4 separate regions of the Homo sapiens genome follow, and all the other regions are linked to region 1. Evidence: promoter capture Hi-C in human tissues and cell types (Jung and others, 2019). All regions are on one chromosome and are shown on one strand. Each heading gives the region's core, a stretch centred on a gene start or on the middle of the fragment in contact. The rest is flanking DNA. Distances are from core to core; before and after follow the strand shown. Region 1 holds the start of ARHGAP33 (Rho GTPase activating protein 33). Region 2 has its middle 6.2 kb from the start of SDHAF1. Region 3 has its middle 28 kb from the start of SDHAF1. Region 4 has its middle 6.4 kb from the start of LINC01766.

Region 1 (3,071 bases), core at 295-2,794:
CTCTCCAGTCCCATCTCTTCCCATTGCCCCCACTCTCAGAGCTCTTGAACTTCTAAGAGTCCAAAAAAAGCACCCTCTTCTCATTTCCTTCTAGGCCTTTGCAAAGGCTGTTCCCTCAGCCTGGAACACTCGCCCCACCTTTCCCTGGGTACATTCATCCTCACTCCCACCCCTCAGGTCCCAACTCACATGTGCCCTCCTCCAGGAAGTTCTCCCTGACCCTTCAGGCTGCACCTGGCATCTCCTCTGGACTCTCTCCATCCCCTGAGGTTCCCCCATCCCAGGTTCCATGCCTTGACCAGAGCTTCTCCCTTCACAGCTCTGATCACTCTGAGATGGCACTGGTGGTGACAAGTTCATCTCTCTCATTGGACTATGACCGGCCTCCCAGAAGGAGGGCCCCAGACTGAGCTCCCCAGCATAGAGCTGGGCATTGAGTTGGTGTTCAGACATGATTGTTCCTGATTCTTTTCTGGGTCCCCAGTGCCAGCCCAGTCGCGCGCAGCAGGGACTGGGTAAAATCTGATGAATAAATTAACCAGCTGCCAGACAGATTCACTGGGCTGTAGCGTCTCCCTGCTCCATGTCCCTGCAACCCCCAGTCACCCTCAGGGTCTCACCCTCAGGGTCTGTCCCCCTCCAGCCCATAAGGTTCCCCAAGGCAGGATGGGAGCTGACTCTCTCTGTGCCTGGAGCGTGGGGCCTGCACAGAGGCGGTCTCAGTGAATGTCTGCTAAGTGAGGGAATGAATGGATGAATGAGCGGGAGCAGCATGGTGGGAGAGGGAAATGGTGGGGGAGGGGGATGAGGACAAGGAGATGGAGCAGACCCGAGGATCAAGGGAGGTACAGTGCTGGCCTGTTGGGGTGGAGTAAGGAAGGAGTGGCTGGAGAGACGAGGCAAAGGCTCAGACTGATGCGGGGCGGGGGGGATTGAGAGGAACTGGGATAGGGTGAAAATGAGGGAGAAGGAGAAGAAAAGGGTCAGGCTGGGGATGGAGCGGGTGGGGGGTGGGGCTCGGGAATGAGAAAGGGGCTGTGGGGAGGAGGAGGGGGCTCCGCCGGGGAGGGCTGAGGGCTGGCAGAAGGATGCCGAGGAAGGTGCTGGGATGGGAGCTGGGGAAGGACCCAGGAGCCTCAGGAGGCCCCTGCAGGGGCCACTTGGGTGGCGCGGGTCCCTTCCTGGACTAGCCCCGCCTCCTCCCAGCCCAGGCCCTAGGTCCCTGTCACCCCATCCAGGGCGTGGAAGACGGGGATGCGCGCTTAGGGGGCGGGGTCGAGGTACGGGCTGGGACCCGGGATGGGGCCGCAGGACGGGAGGGACCACGGCTGAAGCACAGGCCGCGGGATCGGGCGGGGCCGGGGGCGGGGCGCGCGGGGCGGGGCTGCGCACGGACAGACTGACATCCGGACGGACAGGCTGACGGCCGCGTGGGACCCTTACCACCATGGTCGCGTAGCCTCCTCAGGCCCCGGCCGCGCTCGACCCCTCGCTCGCCGTTCTCGTCGCCGCTGCCGCCGCCATGGCGACACAAAGGGGAGGGCGCGAGCCGCGCGCGGGCGGCTGCAGACCCCGCCCCTAACGGCTGCCCGTGGCTCCGGCGCGCGCCCCACGGGGGCGGGGGGCAGCGGGAACGCGGCGCTGCTTCTCATTGGCTCCGCCCTTGGCCTTAGGCCGATGCCCCGCCCACCCGGAGGCTTCTCATTGGTTTCACCTTGGGCTCCGCCCCGGCTCTGTGTCCTCGGTCCCGCCCCTCGAAGTTTGACAGCGCCACGCCCATGACTGCTTTTCATTGGCTGTCATCGCCCTCCTGAGACAAGCCCCCAGGTTCTTTATGCTTTGCTTCCGACACTTCCAACACCAAGCAATGGACCCTACCTTTCGTCCACTCCCAGTGTCCATTCTTCTGACTTTTTTATTTTTATTTCTTTAAGAGACAGGGTCTCACTCTGTCGCCCAGGCTGGAGCGCAGTCCTGCAATCGTGGCTTACTGCAGCCTCAACCTCCTGGGCTCAAGCGATACCTCCCATGTAGCTGGGACTACAGGCGTGCGCTACCACGCCTGGCTAATTTTTTTTAGACATGGGGGTCTCACTATGTTACCCAGGATGGTCTTGATCTCTGGGGCTCAAGAGATACTCCCTCCTCAGCCTCCTTTCAAAGCGCTGGGATGACAGGCGTGAGCCACCACGCCAGCCAGCCCCTGATAGTCTTAATTGGATTCTCCCACGGCCTCAGAGCAGTGCCCAGTTCCTTAAGCAGCTTTTCAAAGTCCCAGTCCCAAGTCTCACCTTTTCAGTCCTGATCCCGACCCCGCTCACATAATGCCGAGGACGCTCCGCCCATGGACGTTTCTCGTTGCCTCATATACCTTGCCTAGGACGTAACCCGAGGCTTTCTGCGATTTGGCCTCCCCTGCCCACTGGACATTTTCTTGTTTCCCCTTCTACTGCTTATTACGGGCCAATCTCCAGCCTTGATTTTTTTTTTCTAGGAAAATGCTTAGGGGGAAATGCCAGATCATGCTTATGCCCCCCATAAAGCCATTCCCAATGGAGCCTGCTAATACTGAGCATGCCCAGATAACACTGTAATAACGCCCTTCACAGGAGGGTCTCTCCTTAGTCATGCCCTCAACAAATTCTCATCTCAGAGGGTCTTGGTCTGTTCATTCATTCATTCATTCATTCATTCACTCAAACTCTAATCAATTTGTACATACATCAACAACCAAACCAGGAGAAAATATACCCTGCCCACATTGGAGCTCAAAAGCTACTGGGAGAAGACAATGAACAAAATTAACATTAAACAAAATATAGAATATTAGGCCAGGCGTGGTGGCTCACGCCTGTAATCCCAACACTTTGGGAGGCCGAGGCGGGCAGATCACTTGAGGTCAGGAGTTCGACACCAGCATGGCCAGCATGGAGAAACCCCGTCTCTACTAAAAATACAAAAATTAGCCAGGTGTGGCGGCGGGCGTGCCTGTAATCCCAGCTACCTGGGAGGCTGAGGCAAGACAATGGGTTGAACCCAGGTGGCAGAGTTTGCTGTGAGCCGAGATCGCG
Region 2 (3,071 bases), core at 215-2,714, 210 kb before region 1:
TGACCTCAGGTGATCCACCCACCTCAGCCTCCCAAAGTGCTGGGATTACAGGCAGGAACCATCGCGCCCAGCCTCAAATTCCTCTTTCCAATCTCATCGCCTCTGCCCCTAGTCAGCCTGGCTTCCCATTGGTATTTCCCCACCTCCACACCTTTGTAGCTGCAGTTCCCTTTCCCTTGGATCCTCTTCCCACACATTCTCCTCCACCAATTCCACCTATGCTAGGAATTCTTCCTGGACTCCCACCAGGGGAAGGGGCTCTTCCAGCCAACCCATAGTCTGCCCTGCCTGCACCCCAGACCAAGCCAGAGCACTTATGGCAATGCTTGGGGCCCCTCCAGGGCATCACAGGGTTCCCAGGCTCCTGGCTGCTGCAGTATGGCCTGTGAGAGTGTCACAGAGACCACGGTGCTGGCCACTGGGATGACACGCATCCTGCAGGCATATACTAAGGAAGGGCTTGTTGATGTGGGCCACACAGTGGTTAAAGGGGCCATCCGGCACATGCAGGAGGCCACACAGTTTGGGAGCTTTGAAGATCTGGGCAAGTCATGTGGGCAGCTGACATGAAAGCCATGGTTGGGCTGGGTCAGTGGGCAGTGGATAGTGATCAGGCCCTTGGACCAGGACACGGTATCCAGAGGCAGGTCAAGTAGGCCAACATTGCCTCCAAAGGACCCATGGAGCCCCGCCAGCTCGCCTTAGAATTCAGAAGGCACCATGAGCTTCCCCAGGTGTACATGAGATACAGCCCACAGGCCATGTGCACCATGGCATGGTGGCCCTCCAAGGCGGCCAACCCCAGCCCCCTGGCAGTGCCCAGGGCAGCCAGTAGTGCTCACCATCCACCTGCAGGGGAGGTAAGGGGTCAGGACTGGGGCTGAGGAGGCTGAACCTGCTCCCATGCCTCCCTGAAACCTGGATGTCCCTCCTCATTGCGCCACAAATGAGGGTGAGACTTGGACAAGGGACTTAGCCTTTCTGAACTTCAGTTTCTGTGTTTGTAACATGGAAGGACAAGAGTACCTACTTCAGGCTGGGTGCGGTGGCTCATGCCTGTAATCCCAGCACTTTGGGAGGTTGAGGTGGGCGGGTCACTTGAGGCCAGGAGTTCGAGACCATCTTGGCCAACATGAAGAAACCCCATCTCTACTAAAAACTCAAAAATTAGCCAGGTGTGGTGGTGCAGGCCTGTAGTCCCAGCTGCTCAGGAGGCTGAGGCAGAAGAATCGCTTGAACCTGGGAGGCAGAGGTTGCAGTGAGCCAAGATGGTGCCATTGCACTGCCTGGGCGACAGACTGAGACTCCATCTCAAAAAAAAAAAAAAGAGTACCTATGCTAGGCATATGGTAAGTGCTTCATGACCCCTGCTAAGATCGGCCAATGCCAACCAACCCACAGACACATGAGTTAGGAAGCTGCCTGGGGTTAAGTCACTAAGATTTTGAGGTTGTTTGTTATGCAGCATTAGCTGACTGATACAGTTGCAATAAGGATTAGATGAGATGGTTCATGAAAATTCCTCAGAACAGTGCTGAGCACATGAAAAGCACTAAATAAAACACTAAATTGGCCGGGCATGTTGGCTCACATCTGTAATCCCAGCACTTTGGGAGGCTAAGGCAGGAGGATCCCTTGAGCCCAGAAGTTTGAGACCAGCCTGAGCAACATACTGAGACCCCATCTCTACAAAAATTAGGATGGCATGGTGGGGCATGCCTGTAGTCACAGCTACTCCAGAAGCTGAAGCGGGGGGATCACTTGAGCCCAGGAATTTGGGGCTGCAGTGAGCTGTGATCACATGACTATGCTCCAGCCTGGGTGACAGAGTAACATTCTGTCTCCAAAAACAAAACAAAACAAAAACCAACCAAACAAAAAACATCATAGCCAGTCACTAGCACATTGGTAATATGTGTTCAACATTCTAGGTGAGGAAAGGAATGACTTACCAAAGTATCAATTCCACCTTCTCTCTATTGCTTAAATGATCACTTATCTCTGCTTTGTAACCATCAAGAGTCTAGATTACCATCATTCATTTCCCGACCCTGCTAATAACCTGTTACCTTTTTTTTTTTTTTTTTTTTGAGACAGAGTCTCACTCTGTCACCTAGGCTGGAGTGCAGTGGCGCAATCTTGGCTCACTGCAACCTCCGCCTCCTAGGTTCAAGCAGTTCTCTGCCTCAGCCTCCCAAGTAGCTGGGGTTACAGGCACGCACCACCATGGCCAGCTAATTTTTGTATTTTTAGTAGAGACGGGGTTTCACCATCTTGGCCAGTCTGGTCTTGAATGCCTGACCTCGTGATCCACCTGCCTTGGCCTCCCAAAGTGCTGGGATTACAGGCGTGGGCCACCGCACCAGGCCATAACCCTTTATCTTGTCTCTACTCAGTCATGCCTGTCCTTCCTATACTCCATCCCCACCATCTAGCTGACTCTGCTAAACACCCTTATCTTTTTTTTTGTCTTTTTTCTTTTTTCTTATTTTTTTTAGACAGACTCTTGCTCTGTTGCCCAGGCTGGAGTGCAGTGGCACGATCTCGGCTCACTGCAACCTCCACCTCCTGGGCTCAAGCAATTCTCCTGCCTCAGCCTCCTGAATAGCTGGTACTACAGGCATGCACCACCACTTCCGGCTAATTTTTGTGTTTTTAATAGAGACAGGGTTTCACCATGTTGGCCCAGGCTGTCCTCGAACTCCTGACCTCAAGTGATTTGCCCGCCTCGGCCTCCCAAAGGGTTGGGATCACTGGAGTGAGCCACCGTGCCTGGCCTAAACACCCTTATCTTTTAAAGACATACACTTTTTAATTTTATTTAATTCTTTTAGAGACGAGGTCTGGCTCTGTTGCCTAGGCTGGAGTGCAGTGGCGCCACCATGGCTCACTGCAGCCTCGACCTCCTGGGCTTAAGGATCTTCCTACCTCAGTCTCTTGAGCAGCTGGGAACACAGGCGCGCACCACCCCCCCCCCCCCCCGCCTAATTTTTAATTTATTTTTTTGAGCCCGGGAATGGTGCGGGCCAGCAAGGGAGAGCACAGGGGCGGAGCGCGGGGGCGGGGGCCGC
Region 3 (3,071 bases), core at 208-2,707, 190 kb before region 1:
GGGCCACACTTGTGCTTGACAGCAGTGATGGTAATACCAAAGATGCACCCTGTGACAAAGCACATGGGCTGCCTCCCTTCAGGACAGGAGACCCACAGTTAGGAGGCAGGGAGGCTGCTGAGGAGGGACTAGGGGCATCAGCTCAGCATGTAGGTGCAGATCCCAGGCATGGGGAACAAGTGGTCATTGAAAATCTAGATGTATACTGGCCAGGCACGACGGCTCACGTCTGTGATCCCGGCACTTTAGGAGGCTGAGGTGAGCAGATCGCTTGAGGCCAGGAGTTTGGACCAGCCTGGCCAACATGGTGACACCCCGTCTCTAAAAATACAGAAATTAGCCAGGCGTGGTGGTGCACACCTGTAATCCCAGGTACTCGGGAGGTTGAGGCAAGCGAATTGCTTGAGCTTGGGAGACAGAGGCTACAGGGAGCTGAGACTGTGACATTGAACTCCAGTGTGGGTGACGGCAAGACCCTGTCTTTTTTTTTTTTTTTTTTTTTTTTTAGATGGAGTCTTGCTCTGTCGTCCAGGCTGGAAGTGCAGTGGTGCAATCTCGGCTCACTGCAACCTCCACCTCCCGAATTCAAGCAATTCTCTTGCCTCAGCCTCCCAAGTAGCTGGGATTACAGGGACCCGCCACCATGCCTGGCTAATTTTTTTGTATTTTTAGTAGAAACGGGGTTTCACCATTATTGGCCAGCTGGTCTCAAACTGCTAACCTTGTGATCCGCCCATCTCGGCCTCCCAAAGTGCTGGGATTACAGACATGAGCCACTGCGCCAGGCCCGACCCTGTCTTTAAAAAAAAAAAGAAATCAGGCCGGGTGCGGTGGCTCATGCCTGTAATCCCAGCATTTTGGAAGGCTGAGGTGGGCGGATCACCTGAGGTTGGGAGTTCAAGACCAGCCTGTCCAACATGGAGAAACCCCATCTCTACTAAAAATACAAAATTAGCCTGGTGTAATGGCACATGCCTGTAATCCCAGCTACTCAGGAGGCTGAGGCAGGAGAATCGCTTGAAGGTAGAACCTTCAAGCTTGAACCTCTACCCGGGAGGTAGAGGTTGCAATGAGCCGAGATCGTGCCATTGCACTCCAGCCTGGGCAACAAGAGCAAAACTCCTTCTCAAAAAAAAAAAAAAAAGAAAGAAAGAAAGAAAAAAAGTCTAGATGTATGGTAGCCCAGAGGCTCAGGTGGTAGCCCCTGTGATGGCCCCTTGTCCTTTGCTACAGTCAAGTCCTAATTTTGCCACAGCCAGAGTCTTTAAGCTTGGTTTAGTCACTGTCACCACCTTGAGCCCCAGCTTGGCCATGAGACAGTTCTGACCCAGACACAGATACTGTCTTGGTTTTGGACATGGTTGTAGACAATGGTTAGCTATGGGTTTGGTAGGTGGTATAGGTGCTGGTTCAGCTACAGCCAGAGTTGCAGGAAGTGGTTCTTTCACAGTCACAAGTCGAGGCACTGGTGCGGCTGCAGCTACAGGTTCAGGGCAGGGTTCATTTACGGTCACTTGTGCAAGCCCCAGATGAGCCATGGCCACAGGTTCAGGCTCAGGTCCCCCCAGGAGCACAGGCACAAGCCTTGGCTCAGCTTCAGGTGTGTTGTTTGGTCCTGATGCAGCCACTGCCATGGTCTTAGAGCTGAAGATGGACGGTGTTTTGGAGTCCTGCCATCTTGGAACTGGACAAGGTCTCAGACTCACATGTGACCTGAGTGGTGGGCACACATTTAGGCCTTTTTCATTTATTTATTTATTTAGATTTTAAATTACTTTTTTGTTTTTTGTTTTTTTCTTTTTTCTTTTTCTTTTTTATTTTGAGGCAGGGTCTGGCTCTGTTGCCCAGGCTGAGGTGCAGTGGTGCGATCTCAGCTCACTGCAACCTCCACCTCCTGGACTCAAGCCATCTTCCCACCTCAGCCTCCTAAGTAGCTGGGACTACAGGTGCATGCCACCTGGCTAATTTTTGTATTTCTTGTAGAGTCAGGGTTTTGCCATTTTGCCCATGGTGGTCTCCAACTCCTGAGCTTAAGTGATCCACCCATCTCTGCCTTCCAAAGTGCTGGGATTACAAGTGTGAGCCACTGTGCCCAGCCACACACTTAAGTCTGTGCTTCACAAGCTGACATGTGGTCCCATCAGAGCATGTATGGCCCTCACAGGAGACCTGGAACTGGAGTGGCATCACCAGGGAAGACTAGGAGGGGATGGGACTCTATGAAAGGGCTCACTTCCTCCTCAGTCAAAATATTTAGAGATGAGATGAGGGAAGGATGCAATATAATTGGATCCTGGAATTTAGCCTCATCCCCGACCTGCCTTCATACCCCGGGCCTCCAGGGTCCCTGGCACTGGAAACTCAACATTCAGAAGCTATCAGTGTTCCCAATTTAAAATAAACTGGGTCTGTATGTATCAGCAGAAAGAAAAGAGTGGGACTGAGGGACAAAATGATCAGCACGGCCTGGGTGTAGAATAGGTCTGTAGGGAGCTCGAGAGCACAGGCTGCATCTGAAGACAGCCAGATTCAATTATGTGAGCATCTCTATGCCAGTGCAAATGTATGGTGCATTGATTCTGGCCATCGAGGACTTCAACTTGCCACATTAAGCAGACTTGAGGGTAGGATGTGAGAGTGTGTGTGTGTGTGTGTGCGCGTGTGTGCGTGCGCATGTGTGTATGCTGTGGGGAACTGGAGACATATATTCCTTCCTTCTTCCCAGGAAGGGATGTTATTTATTCATTGCTATCAGTGCACGAAGCTAGCCACCTACAAAGTGAACTTTTTTTTTTTTTTTGAGACAGAGTCTCACTCTGTCACCCAGGCTGGAGTGCAGTGGTGTGATCTCAGCTCACTGCAGACTCCACCTCCCGGGTTCAAGAGATTCTCATGCCTCAGCCTCCTAAGTAGCTGGGATTACAGACATGCACCACCACATCTGGCTGATTTTTGTATTTTTAGTAGAAATGAGGTTTTGCCATGTTGCTCAGGTTGGTCTCGAACTCTGACCTCCGGTGATCTGCCCACCTCGGCCTCCGAAAGTGCTGGGATTACAGGCATGAGCCGCC
Region 4 (3,071 bases), core at 336-2,835, 170 kb after region 1:
GGATAAGGTCAGAGTTAACGCTGAATGGCTTGGCTCAGTATACATATTCAACAGGTTATAGGAGGAGCTATGAATATTCATGAAGGGAAGGTACAGCACATGTGTAGTAACATCCCATATTCACTTTTTTTTTTTTTTTTTTTTTTTTTTGAGATGGAGTCTTACTCTGTCACCCAGGCTGTAGTGTAGTGGTGCGATCTCAGCTCACTGCAACCTCTCTTTCCCAGGGTTCAAGCAATTCTCCTGCCTCAGCCTCATGAGTAGCTGGGATTACAGGCACCCATCACCATGCCTGGCTAATTTTTTTATTTTTAGTAGAGACAGGGTTTCACCATGTTGGCCAGGCTGGTCTCAAACTCCTGACCTCAGGTGATCCGCCCACCTTGGCCTCCCAAAGTGCTGGGATTACAGGCGTGAGCCACCGTGCCAGGCCCCATGTTCACTTTGGAGTGGAGACTTAACACTTAAATGTATTACAATTAGGCCCTATACATCAAAAGGTGATGCAGAGGACACAAAGGCCCTTTGTGTGCAGCCTCTGTAGACTGGCCAGAGCCACACCCCGTGGTTAGGTGGCCTCTGATCAGGAAGGAATGCTGGTCAGTTGTTATGTTGAAACCACAAAAGGGAGGAGCAGCCATGTATTTCAGGCCATTGGTTGAAATTAGCAGTGAATGAGTCTTTCAATAGGGCTGGTTTCTGTTTAACCCTTAGGGAAGAAAGCTTCATGGCAGTCAGCAAGGGAGGAGGTAGAATGAGGTGTGCCCGACCACCCGTTCAGTCACGGCTAGGAACTCAGCTTTTAGTGTTTCTCTGTAGGCCCCTTGGCCAAGACAGTGTTCATTCAGCCAGTTGGCGGACTTAGGATTTTATTTTTGTCACGTGCGTCCGTGTGAAGAGACCATCAAACAGGCTTTGTGTGAGCAGTAAAAGCTTTTTAATCACCTGGGTGCAGGCGGACTGAGTCCGAAAAAGGAGTCAGCAAAGGGAGATAGGAGTGAGGCAGTTTTATAGGATTTGGGTAGGTAGTGGAAAATTACAGTTAAAGGGGGTTGTTCTCTTGCAGGCAGGGGCGGGGGTCACAAGGTGCTCGGTGGGGAGCTCCGGAGACTTATTGTCCAGGAGAAGGAATGTCACAAGGTAATGTCATCAGTTAAGGCAGGAGCTGGCCATTTTCACTTGTTTTTGTGGTTCTTCAGTTGCCTCAGGCCATCTGGATGTATACATGCAGGCTTGGGCTCAGACACCTGACAATTTTTATTTCTCACAGGTCTCTTATTTACAGCCTCCTGACAAGGATTCTTTGCTTGGCCAAACTTTAGTCAGGCTTCTGAACCTGGGCCGGGCCCAGTGGCTCATGCCTGTAATCCCAGGACTTTGGGAGGCTGAGGCAGGTGGATCACCTGATCTCAGGAGTTTGAGACCAGCCTGGCCAACATGGAGAACCCCAGCTCTACTAAAAATATAAAAATTAGCCGGGCGGCCAGGCGCGGTGGCTCACGCCTGTAATTCCTACACTTTGGGAGGCCAAGGCAGGTGGATCACCTGGGGTCAGGAGTTTTAAGACCAGCCTGGCCAACATGATGAAATCCCATCTCTACTAAAAATAAAAAAATTAGCCAGGCGTGGCGGCAGGCGCATGTAATCCCAGCTACTCAGGAGGTGGAGGCAGGAGAATCACTTGAACCTGGGAGGCAGAGGTTGCAGTGAGCCGAGATCATGCCACTGTACTCCAGCCTGAGTGAGAGAGCGAGACCCCGTCTCAAAAAAAAAAAAAAAAGAAAAGAAAAGAAAAAAAAAAAAAAAAAAAAAAGAAAGGCTGGGCACGGTGGCTCACGCCTATAATTCCAGCACTTTGAGAGGCCGAGGCGGGCATATCACGAAGTCAGGAGTTCAAGACCAGCCTCACCAACATGGTGAAACCCCATCTCTATTAAAACTATAAAAAATTAGCTGGTTGAGGTGGTGAGCACCTGTAATCCTAGCTACTCAGGAGGCTGAGGCAGGAAAATGGCTTGAATACGGGAGGCGGAAGCTGTAGTGAGCCAAGATTGCACCACTGCATTCCAGCCTGGGTGACAGAGTGAGACTCCATCTCAAAAAAAAAAAAAAAAGCATCTGAACCTTCTCCTTCTGTGCACTTCTTTGTAAAATCCAGTTGTAGCAAAAGAACCCTTCTACGTCAGTTTAGCTAGAAACCCTCATCCTCTGTATCTGATACACCTCGGCATCTGATCAGGTTCCTCATCCTCCACCATCCCCCTGGTGATGTCTGGTCACCCTGGCCTGTCTTCAACTAGAATCCTATTAGGTTGGTTTAGTCAGAATCCCCCTTACCCTCAATGTTTTCTCTTACTAATTTTCCATCCACTGACCCCTACCCTGCTCCTTGGGTAGGACTTCCCACTTGCTCATGCTGTATTTAGTGTTGAGCCCCATCTTTCTCCTCCAGTGCAGGCCCCTGTCTCAGTATTCCCTCTGCATATTGCAATGGTCCTGAATAAAGTCTGCCTTACTGTCTTTTTCTTTTTGAGATGGAGTCAGTTTTGCTCTGTCCCACAGGTTGGAGTGCAGTGGCACAATCTCGAACCACTGCAACCTCTGCCTCCCAGGTTCAAGCAATTCTCATGCCTCAGCCTCCTGAGTAGCTGGGATTACAGGTGCACACCACCACGCCTGGCTAATTTTGTATTTTTAGTAGAGACAAGGTTTCACCATGTTGGCCAGGCTGGTCTTGAACTCCCAAGCTCAAGTGATCCGCCCGCCTCGGCCTCCCAAAGTGCTGAGATTACAGGCATGAGCCACTGTGCCTGGCCCGCCTTACTGTCTGTAACGAGTGTCATTAAACAAGTGTTTCTTTAGTAACCCTTCCCAAGTTTTCTTCCATTATATATTGGACCACTCCGATTGTCACTGTCTGGTGGCATGTCTGTCTCTCACCCCAATTTATATGTTCTGAGGGGGTTGAGTTGAATTTGAAGTAGTCATTGCTACGTCTCCAGAGTCAGGTAGCACAGCCAACGCCCTTGGTAGGCAGAACTAGACTTGCGATGTGAATACATGAATCTGGG

What was found. The method cuts DNA at HindIII sites, captures the fragments that hold promoters and counts their contacts. A contact is called where the count stands out against the background at its distance.
Region 2: a fragment that was not itself captured here is called in contact with the fragment with the promoter of ARHGAP33 in region 1 in 1 of the 25 tissues and cell types used here (spleen).
Region 3: a contact is called between a fragment that was not itself captured here and the fragment with the promoter of ARHGAP33 in region 1, in 1 of the 25 tissues and cell types used here (mesenchymal stem cells).
Region 4: a fragment that was not itself captured here is called in contact with the fragment with the promoter of ARHGAP33 in region 1 in 1 of the 25 tissues and cell types used here (thymus).

What each region holds. Positions count from the first base shown.
Region 1 is chr19:35,774,037-35,777,107 of GRCh38, reverse strand. It overlaps ARHGAP33 (Rho GTPase activating protein 33), which reads right to left and starts at 1,544. Exons shown (of 21, transcript NM_001366178.1): 1 at 1,444-1,544. The coding sequence starts at 1,449. RefSeq lists a silencer at 1,283-1,762 and an enhancer at 1,993-2,052. The HindIII fragment of the contact is 39,613 bases long and covers 1-3,071 here.
Region 2 is chr19:35,987,406-35,990,476 of GRCh38, reverse strand. No RefSeq gene overlaps it. Among named protein-coding and RNA genes, the nearest start is that of SDHAF1, 6.2 kb to the left of the region's middle. The HindIII fragment of the contact is 5,281 bases long and covers 1-3,071 here.
Region 3 is chr19:35,965,352-35,968,422 of GRCh38, reverse strand. No RefSeq gene overlaps it. Among named protein-coding and RNA genes, the nearest start is that of SDHAF1, 28 kb to the left of the region's middle. The HindIII fragment of the contact is 3,385 bases long and covers 1-3,071 here.
Region 4 is chr19:35,602,778-35,605,848 of GRCh38, reverse strand. No RefSeq gene overlaps it. Among named protein-coding and RNA genes, the nearest start is that of LINC01766, 6.4 kb to the right of the region's middle. The HindIII fragment of the contact is 5,357 bases long and covers 1-3,071 here.